Linked DNA regions of Homo sapiens: all the other regions are linked to region 2. The links are contacts of gene promoters, found by promoter capture Hi-C in blood cells and fetal thymus (Javierre and others, 2016). All regions are on one chromosome and are shown on one strand. Each heading gives the region's core, a stretch centred on a gene start or on the middle of the fragment in contact. The rest is flanking DNA. Distances are from core to core; before and after follow the strand shown. Region 1 overlaps LOC102725082 (a long non-coding RNA gene). Region 2 holds the start of IKZF2 (IKAROS family zinc finger 2). Region 3 has its middle 15 kb from the start of MIR4776-1. Region 4 overlaps LOC102725082 (a long non-coding RNA gene). Region 5 overlaps SPAG16 (sperm associated antigen 16). Region 6 overlaps IKZF2 (IKAROS family zinc finger 2).

Region 1 (2,700 bases), core at 97-2,596, 220 kb before region 2:
AGCCATTCACTGAGGAGTGACAGTTACCAGGCCAGGTGTGGGGACTGCCTCTCCTAGAGCCAACATACTAACTCAGCTGAGACTACCCCAGATCTCTTATTATGTTCAAAAACAGCACACATCATATCTGTTTGTTTGATGAAGTATATATACAGAGAAGTGTCTAAAGCATATGGACAGTTTAAGAATGATGATAAAGTAAATACAATCAATATTGATTTTTCATTTATTATATTCAGCATTTTACATCACCTACTGAAAGCTTCCCAAGACTACCATGGCCAAAGTTCCATGCCTGTCGTATGATGACCCTTAGTCATTGTCCTTATCCCTAAGAAAGCACTTATCCCTCTTTGATCTCTTTGCCCAGAACTCACCCATGCACCAGCACTCATGCACAAAACTCATTAAGGACATGGAGTGTACCTTATTTCCACTGTATCACCATGCCCAGGCATGTGGTAGGTCACTTAATAAATAACTGATGACGAATGAATGAATGAAAATAAATATGTGACCCATAATTGTTTTCAAGTAGCTTAGAGTCGGAGAAGGGAAAACAGTAAAACAGTTTAATACAATTTGCTAAGTGTTTTTGATAAGGAGAGCCCAGGACGGGGGCGATTCAGATTCAGACTGGCACCCACCTAGCCCAGATCTTCTTGGAAGTGGTGTGCTGAGCCTTGGTGGGAAAGCAAGTGTCACTAGTTGAGTAGGGTGACAGAAAAGGCATAAAACAGGAGGAACAAGAGATCTGGCAGCTTGAGTTGCCATTAAGTGACTAAGGTACAGTCTAAATCAGAGGTTCGTAATCCATCTCTTCACTTGTGCTTTTTTCTCTTCTGGCAAATGTCTTGAAAGGAAAATCCAAGTCCTTGCTTTCAGAAGGCTTGCCACTTGGTTTCCTTAGAGTTTCCACCAACATGCTGCCTTGTTCCCCTGAGAAAACCGAACTGAAAGATCCATTTGAATTACCTAAATCCCTCCATCTCCTCCTATCAAGTTTTTACCCAGGCCAATTATGGCTAATATTGCCATTTTATAAATGATTCCAGCAAATGCTTTTCAGAGTTCAAATTTTAAAATGCCATCTCTTTTAATATTAGCAAAATGATGATTCAAATTGTCTCTGACAAACTCATGATGCTCACCTCAAATGACATATTCTGGATGAATATTTATTTCCTCTTAATTTTTGTTCTTTGATGTTGCAAATTCTTGAAAATGCATTCCCAGGACAATATTTGTGAGGTAATATGCACTGTACAATTTTTAAAAAGTCCAGAATATACTGTCTTTTTCCGGGACCAGCCCTTATTCCTTCAGAGGCCAGGTAGTATTTCCTCAGTGGCTCCCTGATTCAAGCAGCAATAACTATACAAGGAATGTTTCTTACTCAAAAACCTGGTCCTTGGAGTAGCAACAGAACTCAGGTTCTACCCTGGGTCTATTAAATCATTATCTGCATTTTAACTAGATCCCTATGTGATTTGCAAAAGGTTTAATCTAGTGCACTTACTCTATATGATTGTTAGGGAATGTTTGGAGATACACTATTGAGACAAAATCCTCAAATTCAGGCTCAATGGAAAATAGGATAACACTGACTAGTGAGATAGTGATGACTTTAGGAGTAAGTATTTTAATTGCATCACCAATCTAAATCCATCTCAACTCTCCTTCATCTTCTCTGACTCTATCAAACCAACTATCTTAAATTTCCCCACAACATAATCTTTCTAATTTAGTCAGGTCAAACTTTGCATTGTCTTGCAAATGTTGTGCGTCTTTACTTAGTGTAGTAGTCAGAGTTCTCCAAAAGAACACAAGTAATAGGATGTGGTCACACATATATGAAGAGATTTATTATAAGGAATTGGTCATGCAATCAAGGAGGCTGGCAAGTCCTAAGATTTGCAGGATGAGTCGGCAAGCTGTTGACCCAGGAGAGCTGATAGTTTAGTTCCACCCCAAGTCCAAAGGCCTGACAACCAGGACAGTTGATGGTGTGGTCCATTCCAAAGGCCAGCAGGCTCAAGACTAAGAAAGAACTGATGCTTCAATTTGAGTGTGAAGGCAGGAAAAAAACACCATGTCCTAGTTCAAAGGCCACTAGACACAAAGAATTCTCTCTTAGGGGAGAGTCAGCATTTCCGTTCTATTCAGACCTTCAACTGATTGGATGAGACCCACTTACATTAGGGAGGGCAACCTGTTTTACTCCTTCTACACAATGTTAATCTCTTCCAAACATCCTCATAGGCATACCCAGAATAATGTCTGCCCAAAAATCTAGTTACCTTGTGGCATAGTCAAGGTATTTGACTGTGGCATATAAATATTTATAATGTCCCCATCCCATGGAAATCTCCTCCTTCCACTGCACATCTTCCTAAAGCACAGCTCAAGCCTTTTTTTTTTTTTTTCCAGGAAGCTTTCCCTAACTCCCCTTCATAGATTTCTTCCTTGTCTCAATAGCCTATAGCACTCAGAGAGTCAGTACTAATTGTGGTAAAAAATCTGGTCCTTGGAATAGCAGCAGGGTGATTTGTTTTTATTTTCTACTCTTGCTTTTGGTGTGTTAGATTTATCTCTACCCAATTGGTAATGTATTTTATGATAGCATCCATGCAAAGGCAGTTCAGTCACATGTTTACTGCATACCTCATAGTTCTCAGATGCTCCCCAAATCCTGGCTAA
Region 2 (2,700 bases), core at 201-2,700:
ATTAAAAAAGATTCATCACCATTTCCAGCTCTGTCGGGAGATCTCAGCTTCTTCTAACCCCTCAAAGAGGAGGTGACAATGTCGGGCTGAAGATAAACGGAGGGAGAAAGAAAGAAGTTTTTTGTGTTTCCCCCTTCTCTCTTTCCCTCCCTTGCCCCCTCCAAGCCAAGCCCCCTGCAGAGTTCAAGGGGAGGAGGAAGGAAAAGCACTTTACAGGTGGGTCATTCCAAGCCCAAATCCAGCAAACAGATCGGCTGATAAACAAAACCAAGAAATGAGAGAGAAGAACACCCCCCTCCTCCTCCTCCTCCTCCTCGTCCTCCTCCTCCTCCTCCTTCCACCCCTCCCCCTCGTCCCTTAGGGATGGTCTAGTAGGAAAAGTCACTCAGGAATGGCACCACGTACTTTCAGGAAAGAGGAAAAAAAAGAGAGAGAGAGAGGTCAGTCAGTGCTATAGCAATGCGATTAACAAGAGAAAAAACTTGATCCACCGGTTCCTTAAGAATCGACCAAAAGCTAAGACAAGAAAACTGAAAGAAAAGGGGGGGGGGGCGGGTAGAGGGGAGGGACAGTCAGGCAGAACCCAGCTAGGAACCCAGGCCAACTTCACAGGACTGTTTTTGGCCCTTGGCAAAAAAGAAAAAAAATAAATAAATCTTAATTCCATCTCTTTCGCCCATACTAGAACCTGTCAAAGTGATTTAACTGCTGCCTGTTTACATGTGTCATACCAGGGTTTTTGGTTTTTTTTTTTTTTTAATTCCAACAGGATCTGGATATTACCTTCTATCTGGACAGCTTCAATTTATTCCAGCCTACCCAATCTTTCTTCTTGGAATTCAAGTTAAAACAAAGCAAAACAAGTCCAAATTCATGACAGCTATAGAGATGAGAACTGATTAATCGATTAACATCCCAGAAACAGATTACAAGGAGGGGACGATAAATTAAGGCAGAGGACATCATCTTCAACCCGATTCCCTGAGCGTCCTTTACAAAAATCATTACCCTAATCAGAACCACAATCCATCCCTCCCAGAGAAAAATACCTATATTATTATTATTATTACTGGTTAACAGCAACAAGTCATTTGATCACATCACAGTGCAAAACGAGATGCTATATAATTACACTTAACTTTGAAAACACTCCCCCCTTTGCAAATCATACACATATTTATATATAATCTATGAATCAGAAGACAAAACAAGAGCTGTTCTTCACCACGCAAAAGCCAAGCGGAGATTTACCTCAGCAGTGCATGCAGTAAAATAATCCCATCACCCTTTTGTTTGTGTTTACTGTTAATGTGTCCTCTGTCTTTCTTTCTTTCCTGTGCCTAACGTGTGTTTGTGCACTGCAGTTGGTGGTGGAAACTAAGGCAGTGGATCTGTAGCTAAGGGTAATCCTGTTTTTACTTCCTCCATCTTCAGCGAGGAGCAGGGTTAGCCCGGGACAGCTGGTCAAACCCCGAGAAACCGATCCGGTGGAGCCCGAGCACATCTCCCCCGCCGGCCGGGCTCGCGCAGACGCCCGCGGGCGGAGGGCGGGCTGGCGGCGGCTGCGGCGGCGGCGGCGGCGGGCGGCTGGCGGCGGGCAGCGGAGCCCCGGGCGCGGGCGAGCGGACGTGCGTGCGCGCGCGTGCGTGTGTGCGGGGCCCGAGCGCCTGTGCGTGTGTGTATGAGAGCGCGTGTGCGCGCGCGCGCGGGCTGGCGGGCGCGTGTGCGCGTGTCTGCGCGCTAAGCCGCTCGGCGCGCTCGGCAATCGATTACAGGACAAGTGCTGCCCCGGAGGCTCCGCGACGCGCGCACTCCCTCGCGCCCACCCGCGCGCCCGGCCGCGTCGCCCCCAGCCCGTTGGTCCCCGGACTGCGGACCCCGCCCCCGACGGGGGCCAGGTAACCCGCTTCCGAGTGTGCCACGGCGACCCCCATCTCCCCTCCCCGTGTCATAATAAATCTCACGTTTTCTGCCGGCTGGAGGCTTGGAGCGGTGAGGTGACGTTCATTTCGGCCGCGTGAAGTTTTCTTTCAAACTGGGATTGGTGGGGAGGCCGGGGGAAGGGAGCGGGGCGGCGATCTTGGCGCCCTGCGCGGAGTCCGGGAGCCGCGTCCCGGCCGAGTCGGGGAGTGTGCGTGGAGCCTCCCACCTACTGGTCTCCGCCGGCAACTCTGCGGCCCCATTTCGGAAAGCGCACCGCATTGACCGGGACCTGAAGCGGGATAAGAGGGGTCCTGGGGAATAGACTGAGAAAGACATTCATGTCTGAGATGAAGCTCAACTATTACTATTTTGAAAGTGCTTTAACAGTGCAAGTTTAAAAACTAAAGTGTTGACTTGCTTTTTCTCCCCCGGGGCATGTGCCACGTCTTCCAAAGTCAAAGGAACGGATGAGTACAAAAAGTTGCTACCCTTGAAGTGTTACCTATCACTATCAACCACAGCTTGTTTATTTGGAAAGAACTTAAGTGAACCGTCAAGAGAAAAACAAATGCATATTCTTTCTACAAATAGTAGCATTTAGTATCTTTCCTGACCACATTTGCGAAAAGAGGGAATAGAGACTTCTATAATTAAAGGGAAAAGGAAAATGAAAGGAGCTGAAAATAGTGAACTGTGTAGTCTGGATGGCTGAAATTTGAAAACACATGAAATTATCAGGACTGCCAAACGGTGTTCCTGAGAAACCATATCACAGAT
Region 3 (2,819 bases), core at 19-2,518, 240 kb before region 2:
GGTGGAATGGATAAAGAAAATGTGGCACATATACACCATGGAATACTATGCAGCCATAAAAAAGAACAAAATCATGTTCTTTGCAGCAATGTAGATGCAGCTGGAGGCCATTATCCTAAGTGAACTAATGCAGAAACAGAAAACCAAATATCACGTGTTCCCGCTTATAAGTGGGAGCTAAACATTGTGTACACAAGGACAGAAAGATGGGAACAATAGAAACTGGGGACACAAGAGCGGAAAGGGAGGGTTGAAAAACTACCTACTGGGTGCTATGCTCACTTCCTGGGTGACGGGTTCAATTACACTCCAAACCTCACATTACACAATAAAGGTTTGTAACAAACCTGCACATGCCTTCCCAGAATCTAAAATAAAAGTTGAAAAAAAAAAGATTAAGTCCACTAATTTGTCAATGTGGATATGAAAGTAAGTAGCCACATGATTAAAACTCATTTCAACTTGTTTATTGCATTTATAATTGATTCTCATTATTTGCAGGTTCTGTGTTTGTGAATTCACCTACTCACAAAAATCTATTTGTAACCCCAGAATCAATACTAGCAGTGTTTTGTGTTCTTTCACGAACATGCATAGAGCAGGGACAAATTTAATCACGTCCCAGCTGAGGTAGAACAAAACCATGCTCTGCCTTCCTGGTTCAGCTCTCATATTGTAAACAAGTGGCCTTTTTTCAGTCTATTTATTGTCACCTGTTTCTGCATTTTTGTGCTTTTTGTTGTGTTTCACAGTTTAAAATGAACCCCAAGCACGGTGCTGAAGTGCTGTCTAGAGTTCCTAAGGCTGTGATGTGCCTTAGGGAGAAAATATATGTATTAGATAAGCTTCAATCACCCATAAATTACAGTGCTGTCAGCTCTAAGTTCAATGTTAATGAATCAACAATAATACTAAATGTGTCTTTAAATGGAAACACACATAAAAGAAGGTTATGTATTCATCAGTTAATGAAATTGTGACAAGGCACAGAAGAACCTGACCCTGTATTTCCCTTAGGGGGAATGGTTTAGTATTTGCAGCAATTTTATAGGATGTAACAATTGCAAATTATGAGAATTGATTGTATATTTCATATTTGATATTTTCATCATCTTCAGAAAGGATCAGATGGAAAGTTTAGAAGACATTAATATGTAGGGTTTCTTTAAAAATGAAATACTATATTATTACCATATATATTATGCTCACCATATCCTTTTCTTATGATGATTTTTAATTCCTTTTTTAAAAAATCTTTCTCCTAGTTAGAGAGACTTTTTAGTTAGTATTAATAATTATTTCTTACTATTGATAGGGTGCCACTAACAATATTTCTTAACATAAATCTCAAAGGAAAGGGGCTTTCTCAGAAGTCCTGGGAAGTTAGTTGGTGGCTGCGCCCACCTGCCCACATATGACTACTCTGCAGTGCTCCAAGAGGGGCTCATGACTTATCGGATGACAGCACAACTTCATGCCACAGAAAGAAGAGGATGCCCTTTAAAGGTAAATGCATCCAAATTCCAGCTTTACCAATTCAGGCTCATATAACCGAGAATGAGTTGTTTACCTTTCTGAGCTTTTCTGTCTCTCTTAATCTGTAAAATGAAGATACTGAAACCAACTTACCAAGGCAACCTTTTTCTTTACTAAAACCAAATCTAGAAACTCAAAATGTAGTCATGAAAGAAAAAGCTTTGTGGTAAGATAGGTGCGAAATCCAGCTGCTTTGGCATTTCCCCCAATTTTATCTTTCTGTGGGGCTGTCACACTTTTACTACCAGTGCTAGCATTGTGAGGGGTCCTCCAGTCTGGCTGTTCTCCTTAACTGATTTAAAGACCGTTACTCCCCCTTGTTTCTCTTTAGCACAACCAAGGCAGGCAGAAATCTCCCAGAGGCCTTCACTAACTATTAAGGGAGACAAAGTGTCAGGACATTGTGGAGGAAGCCCCTCTGGGGTGGTTCATTTGATGGCATCTCCCATGTGGAACAAGGCTAGAAACTAGAATGTAAAAAGTCCAGGGAAATAGAATAGGCATGCAAGGCCTGCACTATACTCTTCAAAACGGCATTTGGAGTAAGAAAGGCAGATTTTATCAGGGCAGAGTTCTACTCAGGAGTAGTTGAATCAGAAATCTGCAGTGTGTAAACCAGACTTCTGTTATTCTTTCTGTCTTTCCTATATTTGCATCCTTGCTGTTTTTATCATTTAATAAAGTCGTTTTAAAAGCAGCAACCTATAAAAAGCACAGTTCAGTTGTACTAAGGAACTCAATTTGGGATTTCTGACTACGTTTTAGCCCTAGTTTTAAAAGGTGTATAGCTAGAGATGGGATGTAAATATAGTATCAAGGGTAGAAAAACTAATGAGCAACACCCAGGATATTTGGAGAAATAGAGTTTGGTTATTTGGTCAGGCTTAATCCCCCATAGGAAGAATACCAAAGTGGTTGGCACAAGGGCTGACTATGACAATATATTAACTATGTCGTAACAAAATACCTCCAGAAGGGGCTGTTTTATATTTTGACAACTACAAACACACATGCTAAAATTAGATAATATTTTTTAAACTTTTTTATAAGAAACTTACCAAAGTTTTACTAGTAAAGGAAGAGTGATGTGCTCATTTTTAAAAATTGTATTCAGTAATTCCACTTATTCAACCCAAAGCATATCATGTAATATAATCACATAATTTTCTTATGAAATCTATAGTAGGAATAATTGCCCCTGTTTTACTGAAGGCAAAGAGATGTCATGTGTATATTTTTAAATCATGGGTAGATTTAAAACTAAGACTGGAAAGTTTTGGCTC
Region 4 (2,788 bases), core at 79-2,578, 180 kb before region 2:
GCTTACTTGTATCACAGTACCTCTTTCATTTCACTTGCAAATTGTTTACAAATATGCCCCTCTCTCACTCAGAAGTCATATTCACTGATATTGGTCTAAATCATGCCTGTACATGCTATGTATTTTCTGTTCATTTCTGAGCTCCACCCAACTTGCTCATTTTCCTTATCGCTCAAGATTTAGAAAAAGTTGATTCATGTCAGTACGACATCATGCAGATTGACTAAAACTAACTTTGAGATTAGGGGAGACACGTCTTTCTATAAAAGAACCCGGAGTTGCCCTTAGACTTTATGTGTTCATCCTGCTATATATGACACTTAAGCTAACAGAACTGAATTTCTTTGTGGTTTACATCTCTAGAGAGAATATGTTTCTTCTTGTTTAAGAAGTGATACACTGAGATCTTAAATCTTCCTGGTTTTAGCAGAGGAGACAGGGTGGGCTCTTCAGTGATCTATATTCTCCAGTCAAGTTGTTACTACTGAAGTGGAAACTTTTCTTCAAATTATTTGTCTGGGTCTCATTTGGGCCTAAAATGCAGACTTCAGCTTAGATGAAACTATCAGAAATTTAGGAAATGAAAAGTACCCAACAGCAAAAAGCTAAATAAAGTGAATACGGCATCTATTTATATGTATTTAATCCTTAGAAGACAAGCTTCTAGAGAAAAAAACCACAGGAGAATCTTAGCCTATGCTAATAAGTGAAGAGGAAGATACTCACCATGTAATATTAGCTAAAAAAACAAATGTGCATGGTGGGAACAGATGGATTTTTATTTTGGATTTAACTCATTAAAGGTATTTCGTAGTCTGGCTGCAAGTCAGACTATTTAGAATGATGGAGATAGGTATTAAAACTAAAATAACCCAGCTATTGTTAATATTAATAAATCGGCTTGGAACTTGCACTTTCTTCCAGCTGTTATCTTTAAACAATCTATTTAAATATTTCTTTGCTCTCTTACCTTTCTTTAATTTCTCAAAGATATGCATAGCCACTATCCTATCCCTTTCCTATATGGAATACTTAGCACTAATTTACATTTTGCCAATATATTTATACTTTGCTTCTTGGCCTTTCAGTGAAGACTAAAGTGCTGTAACGTGTAGTAAATATGTTCACCCACTACCTAGAAGTCTCCCAGACAAAAAAATTCCCTAATTTAATAACCATCAGTTTTTCAAACAATGTCAGATATATCCCACCATTTTCCAAAAAAAGCTGCAAGCAACATTTCACCCAACAGACCCTAGGCACCATCAGTGGTTAAAGGTCTTACCTCAGTATGAGGCAGCTGGGTAAGATCTGGAATATGCATGTGTCCTACAAGGCTGTATGTCATGAGCCAGTGCCAGAAAGGGCAATTTTCTTTTTTATTTAGACCAATTCGAGAAAAATAAACTTGTTTACAGGCCACCTTAAAAAATTCAACATGGGGATAGCTTTATTTGGGCTTTTGTGAGAGTGGATATATTCATTCAACCTAGATTATCCATTTAGTGTCAGTGAAAAAAATTGCAGGCACTTCTTAGTCACCAATATGTTAAGGTTTGTAATAATCCAGAGCAATTTTCTAATTGTATCCTGAAAATAGGTTCTTCATCACATGGAAAATATGGGAAGATTGCAAAACTGAGTCATGGGTTGCTCATTACTGACCTGGAATCTTATTCTCTCTAAGTTATTCAAAACACAGAACAGTTGGTGTCAGAGTTTCTCTAAAGGGAGCATTCATTTAGAAGTGAGGACAAATAGCTCAGATTTAAGCCATGTAAAAAGAGTGGGAATTGAAGATATGAACCCAACACTTAATTTTTAACATAAAGGCAAATGTCAAGGTGCATATGTGAGAGAGATGAGGAACACACCATCACGAAATAGGGAATGTTAGGGCCAGATGGAAACCTTGGTGATTATTTAAGTCCACCTCCTAGATTTTTACAGACAAGGAATCAGATAAATGACATGATGTCTTAAGACATTCCATAGCAAAAGCTTGGGAGTCAATACTACTTCAGTTTGATTACTGGTCCAGCAATTACTGGCTGTGGGGCATTAAGTATGTTATTTTACCTCCCTTTGCTAGTTTCATCTATGATATTGGGATGATTGTGCAGCACTAAACTAATAAGTTGTTTCAAGGAACAAATAAATCTGCTTATACATATAAACCACTCAAATCAGTATTTACAACTGACGTGCACCCAATAAATGATAAATTTCTTTTCACAACTTTTCATCTGCTCTAGGTTTTTAAATTATCCACCATGACTTTAGAATAATTTAAAGAATATATTGATATGTTCCATTTACATACCATTCCTGGAAAAATAGTATTCCTATGAATTTTATAATTAAAATATAAAATATATTCAATGTTAATTCTTGAAATTAATGGGTAAATTAATTTATACATGGATCTTTAGTGTGAACTTAGGCCAGGCTTGAGACATGTAGTACCTCAACATGTTGGACAAGCGTTTCGGGTCTCACTAAGCCTTGAGGAATGGGAAAAAAAGGAAATGGAATGGCTTTCCCCATTCAGAGATAGCACCTCCCCACCATGCTCATAACTCAGACAGCACTGCACTTTAAAGGTAAGGGGAGGGGGCACATACAAGGAACAGGTAAGAAAAATAAGACTTTCCTGCAACTCTACCATTCTTCTTAGAACTTCTCTGACCATGAATATCTTTCTTTCTCTTTCTAGTTCTCTGCCTATCCATCAAGGACAAGCTTATCCCCAAATTTTCCCAAGGTTCCCAGCCCATAGCCTCCTCTT
Region 5 (2,700 bases), core at 114-2,613, 140 kb after region 2:
ACAAAGACTTTTTCAAATAATCACACTTATTTGAACTTTAACACATATAAGCAACTGTAACTTTTTAGGATTTTACTAACCGTTGTGTGAATTATCCAACCCATTTGCTTTTCTTCTTTCTTTGGTTGACTGACTGCTATTTTGTATTTTAACCAAATGGTAGTCAGGGGATACACAGTTAAACATTTAACCAGTTTATTTTGCTATATTCCATGCTGAGGGAAGAGGTTTAGTCATTTCAACTCTCAGTTGAAATGAAGTTTGAGGATTACTTGTGAATACCAATTATTCCTGTATCCCTGGGCACTCTTCACATGGTTAATTAAGAGTTGCCTGTGTAATGTTGTTTGACATTGTTTCTTAAGGCAATTATGATAGTTGCCAAAGTGAGACTTCCTTTGGTTTAAAGTCTTTGCTTTCAGGTAATTTAATTGAGCTATCATGGTGGGTAAATAAAAGTTATAATATGCACAGATGAATCAGAAATCTGATGTCCTCTGCTTCGCACATATACTCAATCACTTCTAATCTACTGCATTTGGCCTGGATTTCCCTTATTTATCACTCAACAGATGCTCCTAGTACATTAGACAATGAGCTATCAATATCGAGCAAGACTTTGAAAGAAGTTGACTTGAATTCTTTAGGAAATCTCCCACTTTTCTGCTTTTAAATACTCAATTATGAAGAGTATGAATAGACTAATGTCCAAACCAGAAACAGCCAGGATCCATCTTGTGGGGGACATTAATGAAGGTCCCATGTCCTTTATAATGGTTTACACACTGGGTTCAGGAAAAAGAGTTCTTACCCTGCAACACCCTTTCCCTGTAATCTCCTAGCTGTAACAGTGCCACCTATTTCTCTTCTAAGGAACCCAGAATATCATTGCTTTTATGTTTTAGACTTCAACAAGGTGAGATACAAATATACATTGTTCTTAGCTATTGTCAGAACACTAAGAAATTGAGTTATGGAGTATATGAATCCTCTCTAGAACCCATCATTAGAAAAATACTTGCAGCATTATAAACTATAAGGTGAGATTTTAGCTATGTGATAGATATGTAAAGGGTCAAGTAGGTATCTCCAGAACCTAGAAAGAAGGTTGATTGTCTTTTGTGAATGAATGAATCCCTTATTAGAAATCAACACAACTTGGGTGAGGTTTTCAACTGTAGTAGTGAGGAAGGGCTGCCTATTAATGTATGGCTGCAGACATTTGGGACTGCCTAGTTCCAATTGGAAGGCCAGCATGAATTTGTACTAAGAAAGCTAAGGGTTAATTGACTTTGTTGTTCCTTGTCTAAAGAGACTTTGTTCAAGGAATAGTAAATGAATACATGGACCCTAGGAAAGTGGAGCTTCAAGGTATTGTTTTTGTTACATACCTCCCTCAATATGGACATCTGGCTCCTCTAGCTTTTGATTATTTCCTCTCTCTGGGCATTCTAATACTAAGGATTTGGCTTTTTAGATGGTAGGTGTAAGTTTACTGGCCAATGAAAAAGGCTCCCCAACCCCCAGCAGCAATTTCTGAGAGTTCAGTAAGTTTAAGCCAGTTCTGTGAAGCTAATCAGCTCTGAATGGAGTCCCAAAGTCAACTCTTTCTGAAACTCCAAAATTAAGGACTCTAGACCCTGAAATATGAGGATCACACTAGACTGATGCCCTTATCTGAGATACTGAGGACTGTAATTGAAGTAGCAAGCCTGTAGATAAATATCTTAACTTCTACCATGCTACCTTTAAAAAAAATTATTATTTTTTTAGAGATGAGGTATTGCTCTGCTACCCAGGCTTGAGTACAGTGGCATGATCATAGCTCACTGCAACTTCAAATTCCTGGGCTCGAGCAATCTTCCCACCTCAGCTTCCTGAGTAGCGGGGACTGCAGATGTGCGGCACCATACCCAGCTAATTTTGTTTGTTTGTTTTTGTTTTTGGTAGAGACGGGGGTCTCACTCTGCTATTCAGATTGGTCTCGAACTCCTGTGCTCAAGGCATCCTACTGCCTTGGCCTCCCAAAGTGCTGGGATTACAGACATGAGCCACTGTACCAGGCTGCTGTCTTCTTAAGTAACAGTTCTATCTAGTCTTTCATTGCCATAGTAATGTTGACTGATAACTTTAATTAAAATTGAAGTTTTCCTTATTTTATTTTATTTTTTGAGACGGAGTCTCGCTCTGTCTCCCAGGCTGGAGTGTAGTGGCACGATCTCGGCTCACTGCAAGCTCTGCCTCCCGGATTCGTGCCATTCTGCTGCCCCAGCCTCCCGAGTAGCTGGGACTACAGGCATCTGCCACCACACCTGGCTAATTTTTTTTTTTTTGTATTTTCAGTAGAGACGGGGTTTCACTGTGTTAGCCAGGATGGTCTCGATCTCCTGACTTCGTGATCCATCCGCCTCAGCCTCCCAAAGTGCTGGGATTACAGGTGTGAGCCACCGCACCTGTCCTTTCCTTTTTTTAAATTTACTGTATGGTTTTTAACTTTTTTTTTTTTTAAAGCTAAACATTGTAGTTGAGTAAGTAAAACATTTAGAAAGGTGGATGCATAGATTTCTTTTTCTTTTTTAAAACTAACATTCTCTTAGATACATGTGTTAACCACTTTTTCTTCTGTTATAAAATGGTACTTCTCTGAAATGTTTGTAGTATTATAATTGTTCTGAACCCTAAAGTGTATTTCTTATCACT
Region 6 (2,700 bases), core at 51-2,550, 150 kb before region 2:
GCTGATAAAAAGTCTTACAATCATATCAAGATTTAAATTATTTATAATTTCTCTGACCATATTGCAATTGAAAAGTCAAGAGCATATGGCACATTTTTCAAGAAATCCTTTTCATTTGGCTCCTGTTGATATAATACACCAGGGGAATTTGACATTCCTTGCTGATCTTGAAGGAATCCTTTATAAATTTAATACTGGAGGATGATTTGGTAAGTTTTTCTTCTTTTTGCTTTGCTATTTCACTTGCTTCACAACCTCCCCTGCCCAAATTAGGTTAGTATTTTGAATTATGATACAGTCAAGGCAGGAAAATTTCATTTGAATTTATGGTATTTTTCATTCTGTGTGACACATGGAAGTGAAATTACTGGGGAATGTGGTAAGTATCCATGAAATTCTATAAATACATATCAGTGAGGAAAAACTCTAACAGCTATCTCAAATGTGATGGTGGAGTTCAAACTGGCCTGAAGGATAGTGGCTAGCTAACACTCAATAAAATGAATTTGCAGTCATATATGCCCTTTTGCATTTCTGGTTATGAAGATGTTTATAACAGAACAAACTTCTCATGGCAAAAGATAAATTACATTTGTAAAATCTAAGAAACAAAGAGATGTGTATGACTCACGTAGTGATTGTACAACATGAAGCAGAACTGGCAACCAGTTTTTGCCAGTGTGATTGAACAATCGCTATGACTTCTTAATTTTATCTTTGACTTCTAAGAAATACTGGTTTCTATAGCAGTAGTGTATTCTAGTAGTGTTATTGACCAGATCAGAGCACTCAGACCTCTTGTGTAATTTAAGTGCACTACTATGCTCTTTGGAGTAAGTCACAATTTTCTTTCCTAAGGTCTATTTTCTTATATAGAAAGGGGATAGGCTCTGATGTACACTCCTCTTTTTTAAAAGTGAAATAAGATATGTATGAAAGCTGTCTAAAGAGCAGAGATGTCATTCTTAACAAATCATGTAATACTTTGTTTTCTGCTCTGGTGGACTATATAGTAATGATGGAGATGACTAACGATTGAGATGTAGATTGCAGATATCACATGTATCCAAACCTCTGGAACTGGAAGTGTGACAAATACACAATGGCAATGATAATTTAAGCCTGGTATAGTCAACAATTTAGTCTTCTGTATTTGGAAGACATGTTTGTGTACAGAATTTTCACCAGAAAGTTTTTATAGCAAACTTTTTATGTCAGAAGTTTATTTTATTGGTAAAATATTAAATAATATACAGAATTAAAAACTGCACTTACACTTCTGAGAAGAAATAAATCTTGGACAAATTATATGCTTGTTCCTGAGATTCCCTAAATTTATTCCAGTAGCTGTGCACTCAGACAGTACAAACCTTTATAATATAATCCTTTTCACAAAGTATTACAAAGTTTCTGCAGCTTCTTTAGTTGTACACACATACAGACACACACTCACACATGCATATACAACACTCATACACATATACACAGTAACCACATACATGCACAGAACATGTATGTGTGTGCATTAAAAACAAAGAAGATACAAGTCCCACATTTTAGTCTGCAGTGATAAAACTATTTAGCGGAGGTCTCCAAATCAGTATGTAGTAGAGTGACTTGTCACACAGCTGCAAAGACTGTTTCAGTATTTCCATAGTAAACCTCATTTTCTGAGGTATGGTATTTGAGCCTTAAAAAAACTACATTACACTTAGCAAACCTGACATACAAGGTATGGAATTTTAACTTTACATATATATTTATATATATATATATATATTTCTTTTTTAAACAATAGTTTTTATTTCCCCAAATTATTAGTTTGAAAAAAAATGAGGTTTACTGGTTTGACCTATTTTTTTTTCTTTTTTTGCTTCTAAAACACAAAATACCCTAGAAACTGTCAAGCAATTAGTCTTTAAAATAGTCTAATTACCTTTGGTATTGTTAAAGAAAGAATATCTAAAATGGCCAAGACACATACTGTACAAATGCAGAAATGCAGTAACTGCCTTTAAAAGAAATGCCAAAGAAATGTTATCTTTTAACAAAACATGTATTTATATTACAGCAGTTTTACTACAGGGACACAGGTATAAAAAAAGAAAATTAGCACACTACATATAAATATGTATAAGAAAAATACCTCTTACTTAAATTTGTATGAAAACAGGACTGCTCCAAATATTTTTAAAAAAAATTTCTCCAATAGGTGATATGTAAGTGTTTAAAACTCAGCTAAGTGCTTTGCTTTTATTTAAAAGTTTATTTCTAAAAGGGGAGAAGTAAAATAAAAATATTAAGTATTAGGTTCTTAATTTAGAGCATTGGGCGAGGGTCTAAGAAGATTCAATCTGTAAAAAGTTCAACTTTAGGACACATTTTTCAAGCAAAAGATTACTAATTTCCATGGAAATTTAGCTTAAATAAAGATACCATGAGATCAGACTAGTGGTTTCCACATTCTGTAATCTTTTGATTGTGGAGTGTTTTTCTCTTTGCTTGTTGTGTCCTTTAACATACTATGACTTTTATGAGTTTCTTTTTGTCATTAGCTAAAGGAAGAATAGGTCAGAAAAGAAAAAAAAATCACCATAGTTTTTAAGACTTCAAGGGGAGTATTGCACTTGTACAGAAAGAAAAGAATAGTATCTTTTTAACTAATAGCAGAAGCAATCATTCTGGGATTGCAAATAACAC

What was found. Contacts are between HindIII fragments. The CHiCAGO score rates a contact against its expected background, and 5 or more counts as called.
Region 1: a fragment that was not itself captured here is called in contact with the fragment with the promoter of IKZF2 in region 2 in 1 of 17 cell types (fetal thymus); the score reaches 6.7 in fetal thymus.
Region 3: a fragment that was not itself captured here is called in contact with the fragment with the promoter of IKZF2 in region 2 in 9 of 17 cell types (M2 macrophages, fetal thymus, naive B cells and 6 more); the score reaches 16.0 in M2 macrophages.
Region 4: a contact is called between a fragment that was not itself captured here and the fragment with the promoter of IKZF2 in region 2, in 1 of 17 cell types (total B cells). The highest score is 5.7, in total B cells.
Region 5: a contact is called between a fragment that was not itself captured here and the fragment with the promoter of IKZF2 in region 2, in 1 of 17 cell types (fetal thymus). The highest score is 10.0, in fetal thymus.
Region 6: a contact is called between a fragment that was not itself captured here and the fragment with the promoter of IKZF2 in region 2, in 3 of 17 cell types (fetal thymus, naive B cells and total B cells). The highest score is 7.2, in fetal thymus.

Annotation. Positions count from the first base shown.
Region 1 is chr2:212,931,043-212,933,742 of GRCh38, forward strand. LOC102725082 (a long non-coding RNA gene) reads right to left here. Exons shown (of 4, transcript XR_007088066.1): 4 at 1,844-2,700. Among named protein-coding and RNA genes, the nearest start is that of MIR4776-2, 6.1 kb to the left of the region's middle. The HindIII fragment of the contact is 2,172 bases long and covers 261-2,432 here.
Region 2 is chr2:213,150,162-213,152,861 of GRCh38, forward strand. It overlaps IKZF2 (IKAROS family zinc finger 2), which reads right to left and starts at 1,451. Exons shown (of 9, transcript NM_001387220.1): 1 at 1,252-1,451; 2 at 1-86. RefSeq lists silencers at 1,542-1,601, 1,682-2,041. The HindIII fragment of the contact is 7,158 bases long and covers 1-2,700 here.
Region 3 is chr2:212,909,557-212,912,375 of GRCh38, forward strand. No RefSeq gene overlaps it. Among named protein-coding and RNA genes, the nearest start is that of MIR4776-1, 15 kb to the right of the region's middle. The HindIII fragment of the contact is 850 bases long and covers 844-1,693 here.
Region 4 is chr2:212,968,684-212,971,471 of GRCh38, forward strand. The region is part of intron 1 of LOC102725082 (a long non-coding RNA gene); the gene reads right to left. Among named protein-coding and RNA genes, the nearest start is that of MIR4776-2, 44 kb to the left of the region's middle. The HindIII fragment of the contact is 1,341 bases long and covers 659-1,999 here.
Region 5 is chr2:213,286,152-213,288,851 of GRCh38, forward strand. The region is part of intron 1 of SPAG16 (sperm associated antigen 16); the gene reads left to right. Among named protein-coding and RNA genes, the nearest start is that of SPAG16, 3.0 kb to the left of the region's middle. The HindIII fragment of the contact is 3,262 bases long and covers 1-2,700 here.
Region 6 is chr2:212,998,492-213,001,191 of GRCh38, forward strand. IKZF2 (IKAROS family zinc finger 2) reads right to left here. Exons shown (of 9, transcript NM_001387220.1): 9 at 1,207-2,700. Among named protein-coding and RNA genes, the nearest start is that of MIR4776-2, 74 kb to the left of the region's middle. The HindIII fragment of the contact is 4,483 bases long and covers 1-2,700 here.